2 separate regions of the Homo sapiens genome follow, and region 1 is linked to region 2. The links are contacts of gene promoters, found by promoter capture Hi-C in human tissues and cell types (Jung and others, 2019). All regions are on one chromosome and are shown on one strand. Each heading gives the region's core, a stretch centred on a gene start or on the middle of the fragment in contact. The rest is flanking DNA. Distances are from core to core; before and after follow the strand shown. Region 1 overlaps SLC24A3 (solute carrier family 24 member 3). Region 2 holds the start of SLC24A3 (solute carrier family 24 member 3).

Region 1 (4,178 bases), core at 1,375-3,874, 160 kb before region 2:
AGAGGCACAGCCCAGGTGAGTGAGGGCTGGGCGCCTGGCCCCTGGTTTGACAGATGGCTTCATTTGCAAGCCACAGTGCAGAGATGGCCGCAGCACACTTCCCAAGATTTACAACATCTGTCATGGAGTTTGATATGGCACTTCCTCCTCTCACATAACATAAGGCAATGTGCAGAAGAAATGCAGTCACTCCATGAACGCTTTAACCTATCTGGGACAAATCTGTCTTCCCAGGCCAGCAGCTCTGACACTGGGGTTTCCTCCTGGGTCTCTGCCTGCCCCGCCTCCATTTCAGCCAAGTTCTCTTTATGATAAGAAACACAGTGCTGATCCGTGCGGTTCATGATGGAGTGTATAAGGGAGGGCCAGTGAGTTTTCTTTCTCCCAGAGTAAAAGAAAGAAATAAAAACCATCAACTTTAACTACACTCTATGCACCACAGCATTGAGACAGGGTGTTCTGAGCATCGGGACATAGCCTGCCTTCTCCCTAAGGAGCCTGGCGAACTTTTACGCCCAGAGAGAAGATGAGAAAAGCCAGGATTTGGTGCCCAGGAATCTGGGGTATAGTGTAGGTTCTCCCAGAAGCAAACCCTGAGGCAAGGATTTCAGTACAGGTGATTGATCTGTGAGGTGAAGCAGGGCCAGCTGGGGAGTGAGGAGGTGATACTGGGAAGAGACACCAGCCAATGAGGCATGAGTGGTTGCATCAGTTATCCCTGGGTGTACCTGGGGCTTCCTACTAGCAGAAACTCTGGGAAAAATAAAAACACAGACTCAGTGTTACCTTGCCCAAGGGGTAAGGGAGCTGGGGTATTTATACACCAACTCCCATCATCGGCTATGGGTGGCTCCAGAAAGCATTCATTCCTCTGACTTCTGGTCTACCATAAAGGCTGGCAAGCTACACTTAGGAGGCCAGAGAGAGGCCTTTGACAAAAGAATGCAGATGCCCTGATAAGAATGGGTGAAGAATATGATCAGGGCCATGAGAGCCTATGAATCCATGTTCTGCTGCTGATCAGAGCTGTGATTCAGACATATCCTTTAACTTCTCTGACCCATACCTGAGCTTCACATTGAGAAAAGAGTGCCTTCATGCCTACCCCACAGGCTTGGGGTGAGAATCAAGTCAGGTAATGCTGTGAAAGGACAGTGCATATTACAAAGGGCTGTTAAACCATAAACTCACAGGGAAGGGTGGGAGCCCACCAGTGCCCAGAACTCCAGGAGAGATAGAAAAGGTGTGCAGGCTTAGTCTCCCCATGTCTTATAATTGAGCAGCAAAGGGGAGGCTCATTCAACAGTCAGTATTCTGCTCATCTGAGCACTTAGCGGGCAGGCTGCCTAATTTTCAGGGGCACAAATCCAGCCTGCTTCACCGGTGTCCCAGCTCAGGGAAAACATTTGTCATTTTAACAGGGTTATGGTTACTCATGCAAGACCAGAAAGAAATGGCAACTTGAGCATGTGGAGGAGTGACGGCCCACCCTGTCACTGAGATGGTGGTGATATTTGAGTTATATCTAAGGGTCAGGTAAGCAGAGGAACTGGGAAACTTTCCCATTTTTGAAACATGATGGAAATTCCTTGCTTTGCCCTTAGACCACAGGATAAACCATTCCTCTATGCTTCCCCGATCTGAGGCTCTTTCTTTACCGGATCTCAAGCAAAGGCATTTGGCATTCAAGTACCTATGCTACGTTACAAAATGATGCTGTGAAAAATGGACATTAGTGGCCAAGTGACAACTACTTGGATAAGGAATCCTTCATCCAGTTATTCAACCCATTCAAGGAAAACCTGAAAGAAGCTGTGATTAACCTACCAGGGATCTAGGGTTCGTAGATAGACACACACTCCTCCCTGCCCACCCTGCTCCCACCGCTGATCTCAGCTTCATTTCGTTTTGGCTTAAAAACATGTCATGCTCTTAGTAGATGCCTCCAAATTCAGAAGCCCACCCACTCCAGGAAAATGATGGATAGCAGCAGCTGAAGCTCCTCCTCCACTAAATTTCTCCCCTCACCTACATCAGTCTGGACAAAATCTCCGTAACTTAGGATCCAGGAACTAAGAATCTATAGGGTGGGCTAGACTGTCCTCAAAATATGTGCAAAATCTAAGTCAGAATATATAAATCTATATATATAGTGGCAAAATCTATAGCCACTATAATTAGATCCTCCATGGGCTCAGTGTCCCTCAAGAGTTAGGAATCATCCCAGACAAAAACATCCTTGAAAAAGGCATGGAGATGGCAAGGATCTGCCTGCTGAGTGCTCAGGCAGCATGTGGGCAGCTCTGACCTCCAAAAGGTAGAGAAAAGGGTTCTCGAATGTTCCACCAGGTCTCCCTGACCATAAGAACTTCCCACCCTGACGTCAGACCATTCCAAGGCTCTGCCTTTGCAGAGGAGGTGACCATGGGGCTGGACCTGGGCAGGACAAGGAAGGGCCTCCGAGAGAGGCCTTGATTTCCCCTGGGGTCTGCTGAAGGAAAATTTAGGTTGCAGAAATCGGATCATCTCTCAGGAACTAAACACCAGCAACAAACAAAAACCAGACCTAAAAGCTTCGGTGTGAATAGACAAAGTGAGACAGGCACAGGATCCCACCTGCAAGCCCCTGGACAGAGGACATTGCCAGGATCTCTCCTTAATAAAAATGGGCCAAAAAAAAAAATCGCAAAACTAAAGAATTTCTTTCTTTCTTTATTTCTCTTTTGGTAACTAAGTTAGGCATGAGTCTTTCTGTGCAATTCATTTCACTTTTGGTCCCATCCAGCCCTGGGGCCACCACAGGAAACTGTGGATCAGAAGAACTTTCCATTAGACAGGTCCATATATTTGCCTTCTGATGCCACCTGATTAAATCTGTAATTCTGGCCGCCACAGAGAAGGATGAAATGTGCTGGTTGTACCGGTGTCCTTTGCTCAGTGGTGCTGAGCTCGGGGAGGGAAAGCCGGGCATTTTCCTGTGTTTTCTGTTTTTCCCTGGGGACCCTTTCCTCCCGCTCCATCACTCTTCATAACTAAGGTGACCAGCAGGGCTTGGCCAAAGGAATCCCAGTTTTCTCACTCCAGCAGGATTTGATTCTTAGTAAACACATAGGAAGCTTCTCCAAGGTTTGGTTAGTCTGTTTGTTGATTTGTTCCTTTTTCTGTTTCACCATTTTCATAGGAAGCAATTGAACGACACACTGAGCCTGCTCCCAGATAGTGCTAATAAGGTCAAGGTCACAGCCTTTATTCCCGCATGAACCATTTTCTCCTGTTTTTCAATTTGCTCTTTGTCCTGCAAGAGCATCCCTTACCCTCAGAAAGTGGGTGTGGCTGAGCCAGATGCTAAGTGAGAGCATCAGTGAGCTGTGGATGTTCCTGTCTTTCTTGTGTACCTCATGAGGCTTCACTTGTCTTGAAATGATTCCTTTATGGTCTCTTTATATTCATTCCTGCCTTCCCTCAACTTCTGCTTCTTTCCCTGAGTTAGAAGATTCCAAACAAATACAGATATAGCACATGAGGAATTCTGGACCAAAGGTATGGAAGCTAAAGCAACTCCATCTTGGATGAAAATCCACCATGTTGACTTCTAAGCAACCACAGTTCTAAGGTTTCCAGTTTATTTACTGTTCCTTGTGTAAGAGCATGTCCTTACCATAAATCCTGCCCTTAAGCAATTGTCCTACACATCCCTTCCAAGGCATGTATACTTTTTCTCTATGATATAGAAGCCCTGGGTCTGGTCTGGGGATGATGGCATAGGGATTTACCATCTTGCCTCACTGCTGCCTGAGACACAGACATGACTTCCACAGAGAAGTCTGAGGAAGCTGATGGGCTGAAGAAAAGGCTGGCATACCCACCTGAGATATGGATCCATATCCGTATGCCAGCCTTTTTACATAGCTTATCAGCTTCCTCAGACTCTGGGGTAGGTTTGAATAGACCTGTACGCTGCAGAATACAGGGAGTCTAAGGACTTTCCTCAGCTTCACATGGCCAGGTGGTCCAGATATGAGATTAGAACTGGGTCTGGGGTCCCACCCCAAAAAAGGTAGGGAAATATACCACTAAAAAACATGGACAGCCAAAAGCTTTCCGCCATATGGAGAGTGTGGGGATTTTGTCCCTGTATGTAGGGGGTGGTGGGGTTTATTACCAATGGTAGGAACCTG
Region 2 (4,171 bases), core at 165-2,664:
TATCAAAATGTCTTTATTCTGCACCTCATGACATCTTGCATTAGAGCTACGTCGACCTCAACACCACAGCACATACTTGTAACTGTTTTTTTGTTTGTTTGTTTTGTTTTGTTTTGTTTCTTTCTCACAACCCTTTACATGGCTGTTTTCCCACTAATCGTGCCACTTCCACGGCCGGGATATAAAACCATTTTACAACAGTTATTCTCCCATGTTTTTCCTTCATTTTATAGACAGCTGAATCCCAGGATCGAAGCTGTTTCAGCAGACAACTGTTGGGAGCACACAAGATCTATTTCAGCTCAAGAAAGGCCAAGGACAAAGACAAGACAAAAGTTGTGGGTTAAAGGGCAGACTTTGCGCAGAGCACCGGTAGAGGAGCGGACAGTGTGATGCGTGGTCCACTGCAAACCATTTCTTCCACAGCAGCAGCTCTGCAAAAGGGACCTCTGAGGAAGAATTCCCTGTCTTCCCAGTGAGTGGTCATTTTAGGAGAACAAGTCCCCTACTAGCCCATAGCTGGAGGGCCAACACTTTTTCTCTCCCTGAAGTTCCCGGCACCTGTTCTGAAAGGGGGTTGAAGAGCTCTCTACTCGGGCCATCCCGCCTGCTCTCTGGATGGAGAACATACGGACAACTGTGTGTTAAGCAGTCCCCTTGAATCCTTCAGCAAGCCAAGGAGTATACAGGTGGTCACCTGCACAGGTGCCGGGTCTACCACCACAACTTTATCCCTGGCCTTGGGGGCTGATGGAGAGTAAGACTCCCCACCACCGCCACCAGCAGTACCTCCAGCTCGCGAGTAAGCAGCGCACAGGCGGGCACAGGTAAATGTTCCCAGGGCGGCCAGACGCCTAAGCCTGCTGGCTGCTGGCGCTCAGGGTCCCCACCTCCATGCCTCTGCGTGGGGCAGGGGGAGTCCTCGTGCCTGGCATCCCACTCCCCCCGCCAACCCAGCCCGCTTATCCTGGGGCTCCGGCCGGGCCGCCCGAAGGAGCCCCGCGCCCAGCCCCGGGAGCCCCGAGCCGCCGGAGCCGCAGCGCCCACTCGGGGCAGGCAGCGTGCACTCACCCTTCTGCTCTCGCAGGCTCGACAGCGACCAGAGCAGCAGCGCCACCGAGGCCAGGAAGCAGAGCTGGCTCAGCAGAAGGTCCCTCCGGCGGCGGCGGCGGCGGCGGCGACGCGCGCGGTCCTCGTCGCCGGACGGCCGCATCCTCGGGCGGCCGGGCGGCGGCCTCGGCGGGCGGCGGCCGCTCCTGTCGCGGGCGGCCGCGGCGGGGACAGCGGCAGGAGGCAGCCCTGCGCGCAGCAGCCGCGCGTCCTCGCTGCGCTCCCACCCGGCCGCCGCCTCCGCCTCCTCTTCCTCCTCCTCGCCGCTGCCCGTCTCCTCGTCGTCGCCCTCCTCGTCGCTATCGCCCAGTCCCTCCTCCCCTCCCTCCTCCTCCTCCTCGCCGCTCGCCCGCGCCGCCGCCTCCCGGCGCTCGGGGTCCCGCTCCTCCTCGCGCGCCATGGCTCCCACGCTCCGCGCCCGCGCTCGGCCTGGGGCGGCGGCGCGGCGGGGGCGGCGGGGGCGGCCGGGAGGCGGGGGCGGAGGGGGCAGAGGAGGAGGAGCGGGGAAGGACCGACGGTAGGAGGGCCCGCCGCTGGCCAACTCCGCCGGTTGGCAAAGCCACCCCGGACTGGCTCTGGCCTCGCCGGCTGCAGGAGCGCCTCGCGGGGCCGCCCGCCTATTCCATGGTCGGCGCGATGGGGGCCGGGGCCGGGCCGGAGCGAACAGGGAGCACCGAGCGAGCTGGGAGCATGAGCTAGCGCAGCTCCCGGCAGCCTGCAGCGGCGAGGCTGGTCGGGCCAGGGTTGGCGGGGGGCAGTGCCTGGGACACAGCCCGGCGCTGGCCGGCATGGCGGGGAGGGGGCGCGCTGGGAGGAGACTGGGCTGGGGAGGGATCCCTGTGTGCAGTCCTTCAACCCTTCTGTGCCAGGGGAAGAGGGACGGCGCAGGGGGCCCCCTCTCGGGAAGCACACACGCTGCCTCCCAGAGGCCGATCTTCACCAAGAAGGATTCGCTGGAAACTTTCGGAAAACCGAGGGGCTCTTCAGCCTCCTCTCTACGTGCTACCTGGAGTCGGGGCGCCGCGAGTGCGCTTGGCTGCCCGCGCCCAGCCTCTGGCCTCGCCTCTTCTCGCGGGCCTCCCGGGTTTCCCTCTGCCCCCTTGCGGGGATCCCCCTGTGCGCCCGACTCGGGATCTGGAACAGGCCTCCCCAGAGGCTGTTAGTTCCATAAGGGTGTCCGGCTCCCCCCTCTGTCTTGGGCTCACACTTCGCTTTCTGTTCGTGCTGGACCAAGTCCAATACTGTGGCTGATCGAAGTGGGGACAGCTGGCACGGTCCCTGGAGAGGCGGCCTGAAGAGGCTTCTGGCCTTGTGCAGGTAACACCAGCCTGCCCTACCTCCAACGTTAGAATCTTAGTCCTCCCATTTCCCCCATTCTAGGTCTCCTGCCCCTCCTTGCTGAAGGTGTGGGCTGCCCTAGAGATGGCTGGACTCACGACCTGCCGCAGGTGCCCATTTGGAGGGGATCCCTGGCCATCCCAGACACAGCCCACTCTCCCTCATTGGGCTTCCCTGGACTCTTCCCAGATGCTAGCCTGGGGCTGCTGGCTGGGCTGAGGAGGAGATGCCATTGTTGGGGCGGAGGGTGGGGGGGCGCTGAAAACAAAAGACCTTGTCCAGAAAGGGATCACCTGAAACCAGGTGTCTGTCTAGGTGACTGTCTCCATGGAATCCATTCAGATCAGGGAATCTAGCTTCATACCCTAAGGAGGTGGGAAGGAAGCAGAGAACCTCTGTATAAGGCTCCCCTGTCTAGGTCTGTTCAAATGTGTCCCCACCTGTGACTGACCTACCCCCCCCGACCTCCTCCCAGACAATCCCTGACAGCGCCCGGGGACAGCAAGGTCACAGCAAAGGGCAAAGGAAGTGGTTATAGGTGGCCTCCTTTCCAGAGAAAGGCCATCTCACCCAGGGAGACCAGAGACTTTTCCTTTGTGGGTATATCATTTATGACTGCTGTTCTCAGCCTGGCATCTTCCAGACACTCAGAGTACCTCCCCCACAATGCCTGAGTGGTTTTCCCTTTGCTTTGGCTGCAGATACTAAGGAGGGTGTAAAAATACGAGTTCATCCGTGCTGGAGTGTGTGGGGAGAATTCTCTAGTTGTGTTATCTCCATCAAGCTTTTGCAGACACAGAAAAGAAAGTTTAGGAGCTGAGAAGAATTCAACTAACCAGGAAAGTCACTCAAATAGTGTTTTCTAGTGAAAACGAGGGAAAATAGAAGGTGAGAGAGGGAATCTGGAATTAATTGAGTTAGGAAATGAACACAAGCTCCAGGGGAAAATACCATAGGCTCAAGGAATTGTGTAATCTGGTGATGGAGGGGGAGTTAGGAAGGGAGCCAGGAGGAAGGAGAATAACCAGGAACTGGTAATTTCTTGGAAATTATCTCAGCACCAGGAGTGTATGTGTGTGTGTGTGGCGGGGTGGGGCGGGGGGGCCGGGGGAGAGCACTCCTGTGGCACACAGAAATGATTCTTGGGTTTCTATTCATTTTGACAGATTTTGGAGTGAAGGGCACTGTTAAAGTAAAGCACAGAGAGTGATTCCTTGGGCGGCCAGGCACCACCTAGGGAAGAAAGGTGGGGATCCTGGTCCCTAGGCTGACAGCAACTGAGACCTGATAGGTTCCTCAGCCCCCCAGGTGATGGCCAAGTGAGACAGGCCTCAGGAGCTCCTCTCCAAAGAAAACAGTCATTTTTTTTCCTACCTGTCCCTTTCAGTCTTTGGAAGCTCCCTCCAGAAACCGAACTGTGAAAGGAGCAAGAGTTGAAATGAAGAATGTGCTCTGATACTTCAGTCTGAGAGTATTTCTTTCCTGGAGAGAGAGGCATCACTCCTAGATGTGTGGGGGTCTTCACCCTTTCAGGAATAAGACAGGTGTCTTTACAGAGCACCTCCCCACCTTGGGCTGGGTTCTGGGGTCACTGTCTACTCCCCCTGTTTTGACCTTCCATAAACATTCTGTTTTCAGGTCCCTGCAGAGACTTTGGACCTGATGTGGTGAATAAAGTTGGTTAGTCTTTCTCACAGTTCTACCTTTAGGACAAAGAATAGAA

The links. Contacts are between HindIII fragments. The study calls those that stand out against the background at their distance.
Region 1: a fragment that was not itself captured here is called in contact with the fragment with the promoter of SLC24A3 in region 2 in 2 of the 25 tissues and cell types used here (H1 embryonic stem cells and dorsolateral prefrontal cortex).

Annotation. Positions count from the first base shown.
Region 1 is chr20:19,371,567-19,375,744 of GRCh38, reverse strand. The region is part of intron 2 of SLC24A3 (solute carrier family 24 member 3); the gene reads right to left. Among named protein-coding and RNA genes, the nearest start is that of SLC24A3-AS1, 89 kb to the right of the region's middle. The HindIII fragment of the contact is 3,946 bases long and covers 652-4,178 here.
Region 2 is chr20:19,209,885-19,214,055 of GRCh38, reverse strand. SLC24A3 (solute carrier family 24 member 3) reads right to left here and starts at 1,414. Exons shown (of 17, transcript NM_020689.4): 1 at 1,072-1,414. The coding sequence starts at 1,213. It overlaps LOC101929547 (a long non-coding RNA gene), which reads left to right and starts at 1,588. Exons shown (of 3, transcript XR_007067549.1): 1 at 1,588-2,427; 2 at 3,615-3,992; 3 at 4,087-4,171. RefSeq lists a silencer at 1,014-1,063. The HindIII fragment of the contact is 12,474 bases long and covers 1-4,171 here.